Linked DNA regions of Homo sapiens: region 1 is linked to region 2. The links are contacts of gene promoters, found by promoter capture Hi-C in human tissues and cell types (Jung and others, 2019). All regions are on one chromosome and are shown on one strand. The core of a region is centred on a gene start or on the middle of the fragment in contact, and the rest is flanking DNA. Distances in the headings are between cores, read along the strand shown. Region 1 overlaps RRP36 (ribosomal RNA processing 36). Region 2 holds the start of UBR2 (ubiquitin protein ligase E3 component n-recognin 2).

Evidence for each region. Contacts are between HindIII fragments. The study calls those that stand out against the background at their distance.
Region 1: a contact is called between a fragment that was not itself captured here and the fragment with the promoter of UBR2 in region 2, in 1 of the 25 tissues and cell types used here (spleen).

The regions. Positions count from the first base shown.
Region 1 is chr6:43,029,044-43,032,754 of GRCh38, reverse strand. RRP36 (ribosomal RNA processing 36) reads right to left here. Exons shown (of 7, transcript NM_033112.4): 7 at 3,156-3,663. The coding sequence ends at 3,527. Among named protein-coding and RNA genes, the nearest start is that of RRP36, 9.3 kb to the right of the region's middle. The HindIII fragment of the contact is 7,304 bases long and covers 1-3,711 here.
Region 2 is chr6:42,562,022-42,565,563 of GRCh38, reverse strand. It overlaps UBR2 (ubiquitin protein ligase E3 component n-recognin 2), which reads right to left and starts at 1,535. Exons shown (of 47, transcript NM_001363705.2): 1 at 1,167-1,535. The coding sequence starts at 1,244. RefSeq lists a silencer at 142-271 and enhancers at 1,304-1,823, 1,894-1,973. The HindIII fragment of the contact is 6,066 bases long and covers 1-3,453 here.

The sequences.
Region 1 (3,711 bases), core at 228-2,727, 470 kb before region 2:
GGGTGGCACAATCACGGCTCACTGCCTCGACCTCCCAGGCTCAAGTGATCCTCCTGCCTCAGCCGCCTGAGTATTCTTTGTAGAGATGCAGTTTCACCATGTTGCCCAGGCTGGATAGACTTTCAAATGTTCCTGGCTTATGATTTATCTAGCCTTAAAAAAAAAACAAAAAAAACAAAAAAAAAACTAGGCCAGGTGCGGTGGCTCACACCTGTAAACCTATCACTTTGGGAGGCCTAGGTGGGTGGATTACTTGAGGTCAGGAGTTTGAGACCAGCTGGCCAACACGGTGAAACCCCATCCCTACAAAAAAAAAAATTAGCCAGGTGTGGTGGCATACACCTGAAATACCAGCTGCTCAGGGAGCTGAGGCAGAAGAATAGCTTTAACCTGGGAGGAAGAGGTTACAGTGAGCCAAGATCGTGCCACTGCACTCCAGCTTGGGCGACAGAGGGAGACCCCATCTCAAAAAAAATTCTAGAAAATGCCCAGCCTCTTTGAAATATTCTTTCCTGAAATTTTGATTGTCAAGTCTCACATTTATCTTCATTTTGTTGTTTTATAGACAGGATCTTGCTCTGTCACCCAGGCTGGAGTGCAGTGATGCCATCATAGCTCACTGCAACCTCAAGTTCCTGGGGTCAAGCAATCCTCCAGCCTGAGCCTCCAGAGAAGCTGGGACTATAGGCATGTGCCACATGTCTGATTTTTTAATTTTTTTTTAGAGACAAGGTCTCCTTATGTTGCCCAGGCTGGTCCCCAACTGAGGACCTCAAGCAGTCCTCTCTATGCCTCCCAAAAAGTTGGGATTACAGGTGTCAGCAACTACACCCAGCCTCTTCCATGTTTTTTAACCTCTTTTCCTTAGTTTCCACTTCTCTGTATGTCAGTGCTCTCTCTGTGTAACTTCAGATCTATTTCCAGTTCATTCTCCCTTTAGGGAGAAGTCTAATCTGCTGCTTAACCATAAAGTTTCTAACTTCTCGTAGTGTACTTTTTTTTTTCTGAGGTGGAGTATCACTCTTGTTGCCCAGGCTGGAGTGCAGTGGCGCAATCTTGGCTCACCGCAACCTCCGCCTCCTAGGTTCAAGCAATTCTCCTGCCTCAGCCTCCCAAGTAGCTAGGATTACAGGCATGCGCCACCACGCCCGGCTAATTTTTTGTATTTTTAGTAGAGACGGGGTTTCACCATGTTGGCCAGGCTAGTCTCGAACTCCCAACCTCAGGCGATCCACCCACCTCAGCCTCCCAAAGTGCTGGGATTACAGGCACGAGCCACCATGCCTGGCCCTACTTTTCATTTTTAAAAGGTTTTCTTTTTAAGTTTTACTTTTTTTTTTTTTTTTTTTGAGATGGAGTCTCGCTCTGTTCCCCAGGCTGGAGTGCAGTGGCACGATCTCGGCTCACTGCAAGCTCTGCCTCCCAGGTTCATGCCATCCTCCTGCCTCAGCCTCCAGAGTAGCTGGGACTACAGGCACCCGCCACCACGCCTGGCTAATTTTTTGTATTTTTAGTAGAGATAGGGTTTCACTGTACTAGCCAGGATGGTCTCCATCTCCTGACCTCGTGATCCACCCGCTTTGGCCTCCCAAAGTGCTGGGAACACAGGCGTGAGCCACCGTGACCGGCCTTAAGTTTTACTTTTTAATCACACCAGTTTAGTACCTTTTGATATTCATTTGTCACACTTTTTCTTTAAACATAAGACATTTTGTATTTTTTATTTTATACTTCTCACATTTTAATTTTTGCCAGTCTGGACGACAGAGTGAGACTCCATCTCAAAAACAAAAAACAAACAAAAAAAAAACAATCCTCAAGAAAGGATTACATTTGCTTCTGCCAGGACCCTGGAGACACTATCTACTTGAGACTTTTTTTTTTTTTGAGACGGAGTCTCGCTCTGTCGCCCAGGCTGGAGTGCAGTGGCGCGATCTTGGTTCACTGCAACCTCCGCCTCCCGCGTTCAAGCAATTCTCCTGCTTCAGCCTCCTGAGTAGCTGGGATTACAGGCGCCCACCACCACACCCGGCTAATTTTTGTATTTTTAGTAGAGACAGGGTTTCACCATGTTGGTCAGGCTGGTCTCGAACCCCTGACCTCGTGATCCACCTGCCTCTGCCTCCCAAAGTGCTGGGATTACAGGTGTGAGCCACCATGCCTGGCCATTTTTTTTTGGGGGGGGGGGCGCGGTGGTGATTTCACTCTTTTTGCCCAGGCTGGAGTGCAGTGGTGCGATCTTGGCTCACTGCAACCTCTACCTCCCAGGCTCAAGTGATTATCCTACCTCAGCCTCCTGAGTAGCTGGGATTACAGGCACCCACCACCACACCCAGCTAATTTTGTATTTTTAGTAGAGATGGGGTTTCACCATGTTGGCCAGGCTGGTCTTGAACTCCTGACCTCAGGTGATCCGCCTGCCTCGGCCTCCCAAAGTGGTGGGATTACAGGTGTGAGCCACCACGCCCAGCCTACTTGAGACTATTTTAAACTAAGTTATCAGCCTGAGGATTTTCCAGACCACATGGGTTATAAACTCTTGTCCCAAACAGTACTGAAGGCCAGCTGTGCTTGTATATTACCATGGAAGCTTTATATCCCTACCTCTTAACATCCCTTGCATCCAAAACCAAAGCCAAGTAGGGGAGTTGTGGGATTGGTTCACCCACTAAATGATCTTGTCATCCTTGAGGGGCCCAGATTTAAGTGGGAGGGGTTTCTGATCTGACTTCCCAGTTGTAGATGCCTTAGGCTTTATTGCCTATCCCAATATGTGGCCCACTAAAAAGTAGTTCTAGGCTACCCACAAATCCCACATAAAAGCAGAGGCCTTAAGGCCGGAACGGTGGCTCAACGCCTGTAATCCCAGCACTTTGGGAGTCTGAGGCAGGCAGATCACTTGAGGCCAAGAGTTTAAGATCAAACTAGCCAACATGGCAAAACTCTATCTCTACTAAAAATACGAAAGAAATTAGCTGGGCTTGGTGGCGGATGTCAGCTACTCGGGAGGCTGAGGCACAAGAATCACTTGAACCTGGGAGGTGGAGGTTGCAGTGAGGCGAGATTGCACCACTGTACTCTAGCCTGGGTGACAGAGCGAGACTCTGTTTCGGGGGGGAAACACAAAAAGAAGGCCACAAAAAACAGAATAAAAAGATGAGTAAAGAGAATGTTTATGAAGTGGCTCCTACATAATGTCCCAGCCCTGGGAGTCACGAACAGACTCCATGGTTTTCATTGGCCCCTCTTCTTCGGTATCAGAATCCCTGGTTTAAGGCAAGGATGAGAGAAGAACACGAGGACGCAATGAACCAGATTCAAGCTGAGGCTGTGTGGCATGGCAGAAGGCTGAACTATTCTTGTGTAGCCCTAGGGATAGTCCAAGAGCCCTCTAGTCTTCTCTGAGGCAATGAGATTCAAGGGCAGCTGTGATCCTTGCCCTTGAACGGAAACCAGCCGTGGCCAAATCTGTCCTCACAGATCCATGTCTCCCTGGGGCAGTGGCAGAGCAGAGGATAGTTCCTTATTACTCTTTGCTCAAAGGGAGATGTCTCCTGTCCTTGCCTGCATTTCGTCGCCTCTTTCGACTCAAGAAGTTCTCCAATTTCTTGCTGCGTTTCAGCTCCTTGAACTTCTCAGCTAGTGCCAACTGGCGCTGCTCAGCTAAATGACAGGGAGAATGAAAGTTGGTGAACAAAGAAGGAAGCCCCT
Region 2 (3,542 bases), core at 286-2,785:
ACAACAACAAAACACACCCAAACAAGCAAAGATTCAGCATTTAACAACGTATTTCTTTAAAGTCTTCACCTCTACTCCTGACATTTCTTTCTACCCGGACTTAATGTCCTCACCAATTCACGCAAAATAACTACTCACTGACCAACAGCTCCACAGTGCCCCCAATCCCAAATTTTGTTCGTAGCATTCAGATTGCTGACTTTTATTCACGGGTCACTCCCTTCCTAGCAGCCTTTTTAATTGGAGGTCTTAGAGGTGGGGCCCAAGCTGTCTTGGTCCATTCATAATCATTCTCGGCAATCTCTTCTAATGGGTGTTCCTACAACTCTGCTATTTACACTAGCATATTCATATTACAGTTTTAATGCAATAGTGCGTTTGAACGGTTTTACGTTTGGAATATAACTGCTCCTACTACACTGTGACCAGTTCTCACGTTTAGCTTATACAGTATTTGTTGAAAGCTGCTCTATCAACGTTATATAACATTTGTTCTCCATCCAATTACCCCTAACTCCTAGAAAAAATATTTTTAAAATTTCCCAGACTCCACGACTACTTTCTCATACTCAGTAAACTTTCCACACATGCATCAACGTTGTCAACTAATCAAACCGGTGCAAAAAAAAAAGATAGCACTGAAACGGATAACGAAGGGTAGTGTCGTTTGCCTTCTTGGTGCCTGGGGCAGTCCCAAAAACAAAAGAGGGGCTCGGTTAGGGTGGCATGTTTAGTCGGAGGAGCACACGGCTTCGCTTGTCTCAGGAAAAGCAATTAACTAGATAAACTAGGGCGATTATACCAAAAACACAAGAAGCGTCTCTTCTCCTCTTCCAAGAGCTGATATAAAGGGCAAAGGCCCATGTGTTGGGAGACTTAATGGGAGGCTGGGGGAAAGGAGGTATGATGGAAGAGCCGTGGGTTCTCCTGGGCAGAAAGGGAAAGTAAACGTAGTTAGTGCACAGCGCAGCTCTGGCAGCTGTTGAAAATGGAAAGAGAGGGGCAGGATCGGTGGCCTCCCCGGGCTATTACCCCACAAGGCGAGGGCCGGCACAGCTGTTTCCCCAAGTCTGGGTCGGGCTGCTCCAGGACGTCCAGGAGTCGGTTCCTCCCCACAGGCGCGGCCTGCGAGGGGCAGACGCACCCGCCCGGGTTCCGGCACTCACCCCCGCAATCTCCTCGGCCGAACATTCCAGCAAGCTCCGGTCGATGGCCTGCACCTCTGGCTCTAGCTCCGACGCCATCTTCTCTCCTCCTCCTCCCCAGCGCTACCGCCGCCCGGAGAGCTGCAGCCTCACCTCGGCCCCGGCGGCCTCGACTGCCACCCCTGCCCCAGGCAATCAGTCCCGGAGCCGTCCAAGTGGCTGCAGGTGGAGCAACAGAGGGAGAGAAGGGTGACGTGAACCGGAAAGGAAGGACAGCGGCCTCCTGCGCTCCCTCCCAAGCTTAGCGCCCAAGAGTCAAGTCACTGGCTCGTCCCTGACCCAGGGAAGGACACAGAAAACCCCAGGCCTGACACTCTCGCTGGCCACTACCGCGTCCTGCACCAGGAAAGGGGCAATAACACCCAGGAGGGGAAGCGGAGCTTTCTGGGTACTGTAGTTCTGGGTGCTGTAGGTACAGCACAGCCGGGAAAAAGGTGGCGCCCTAACACGGTGCCCCTCGAATGCATTGTGGGAGTTGTAGTCCATTCTCAAGGGGCGCTGGCTTAAATGGCAGATAAGCGGGCGGGGCTTTTCTGCCCAACGAGAATCATGGGAAGACAGTCGCGGAAAGCAGCGCCCCCTGGAAAAAAGCCAAAGAGAAAGATACTGTGGGAACTGTAGTTTTATTCTCCGAATCTCGTTTGTTCATTTTTGTATCCCCAGCTTCAAGAACACTGCCTGGCACATGGTAGACCCTCAAGGACTTGCCAGTCTGGCATAGGGTAGGCACTCAAATACTTGTCAAAGGAATGAATGAATTACATTCTATTCCTGTGGTTCTATGTCCTGTCATCCATCGAACCCATATCTTTTATACGAGTAATGGAGGTGAACATTACCCACTTTTTTGAAGGTTTAAAACATGTTTTAAAAAATTTTTCAAAAACTTTAGTGATGACCACTTATAAACTTTATCACAAATCTTGCTGCAAAGGAAAAAGAGTCTATTAGGCCAATTAAAAGATTTCCTCTTGATAGAGACATTTAATTTCTACAGATAATCAGACCAAGCTTGGTGGCTCATGCCTGTAATTCCAGCACTTTGGGAGGCCGAGGGGGGCAGACTACTTGAGCCCAGGAGTTTGAGACCAGTTTGGACAACATAGCGAGACCCTCTTGATAAAAATCAAAAAATTAGCCAGGTGTGGTGGCACGCCTGTAGTCCCAGCTACTCGGGAAGCTGAGGCAGGAGGATTGCTTGAGCCCAGGCAGTTGAGGCCATCGTGAGCTGTGATCAGCCCACTGCACTCCAGCCTGCGTGACACAGCTGAGACCCTGTATCAAAAAAGAAGGAAAAAAAAAAAAAAGAAATAGGTAAACATTGTTAGACTAGCTATCAAAGAAAACTATGTTTAGTTAAAGGTAATTAGACTCTTGACTGACAGCTGGGTGACTGGGCTTCTTAGAAGTCTTCAGTCTCTAGAGTTTGTCAGAAAATTGTTTATACCTTTTGTCAAGTGTGTTAATTTATTCCCAGAAGTAGGTTGTAAATTACATATAGGGGGGAAAAGTTCTGAGCCAGACCAGGTTTAGGACATGTTTATGTTTATGTTGTTTTGGGATTTTTTTTAAACCAATACTATGATATTAACCAGTTTTTTAAAAAAGGAAATAAGAAACTGCCTGTATCCCTGTAACCTCACAATACAAGTAAGCCTTCTTATCACTTTTTAAAAGTTATATATATATATACATATAAAACATCAGAAATTCAAACTCGAAAGGAATGTTTTAAAAAAGGAAAATTGAAAACTTCCTATTCCTCTTACCCCAAGTCCCTCTCCCCAAAGAAAATCATTTTTGACACTGTCTTATGAGTCTGTCCAGAAAAAAGTATGCACATATCTGTACAGATATTTATAATGAGATATCTTGAAATATTCTTCTATGTATTTTTCTTTTTTTGCCCAACTTCCTTACACTGATCCACTCAGGACAGAGTCAACTTGGAAGAAAACTGGGATTGTCCCAGCCTAGAAGCAAAAACAACATCTCTTGAGCTGTCCTAACATAGAATTTAAGTCGTTAATAGACTGTAAAGGCAATTTCTGTTCTTAACATTATTTGCTTCCTAACATTATTTGTTTCAGGCCGAGCATTGTGGCTCACACCTGTAATACCAAAACTTTGGGAGGCCAAGATTGGAGGATAACTTGAGGCCAGGAGTTTGAGACCAGCCTGGGCAACATAGCAAGACCCCATCTCTACAAAAAAATTTAAAAATTAGCCGAACATGGTGGCCCATGTCTGTAGTCCTAGCTACTTTGGGAGGCTGAGACAGGAAAGATCACTTGAGCCTAGGAGTTCAAGCCTGTAGTGAGCTATGACTGTATCACT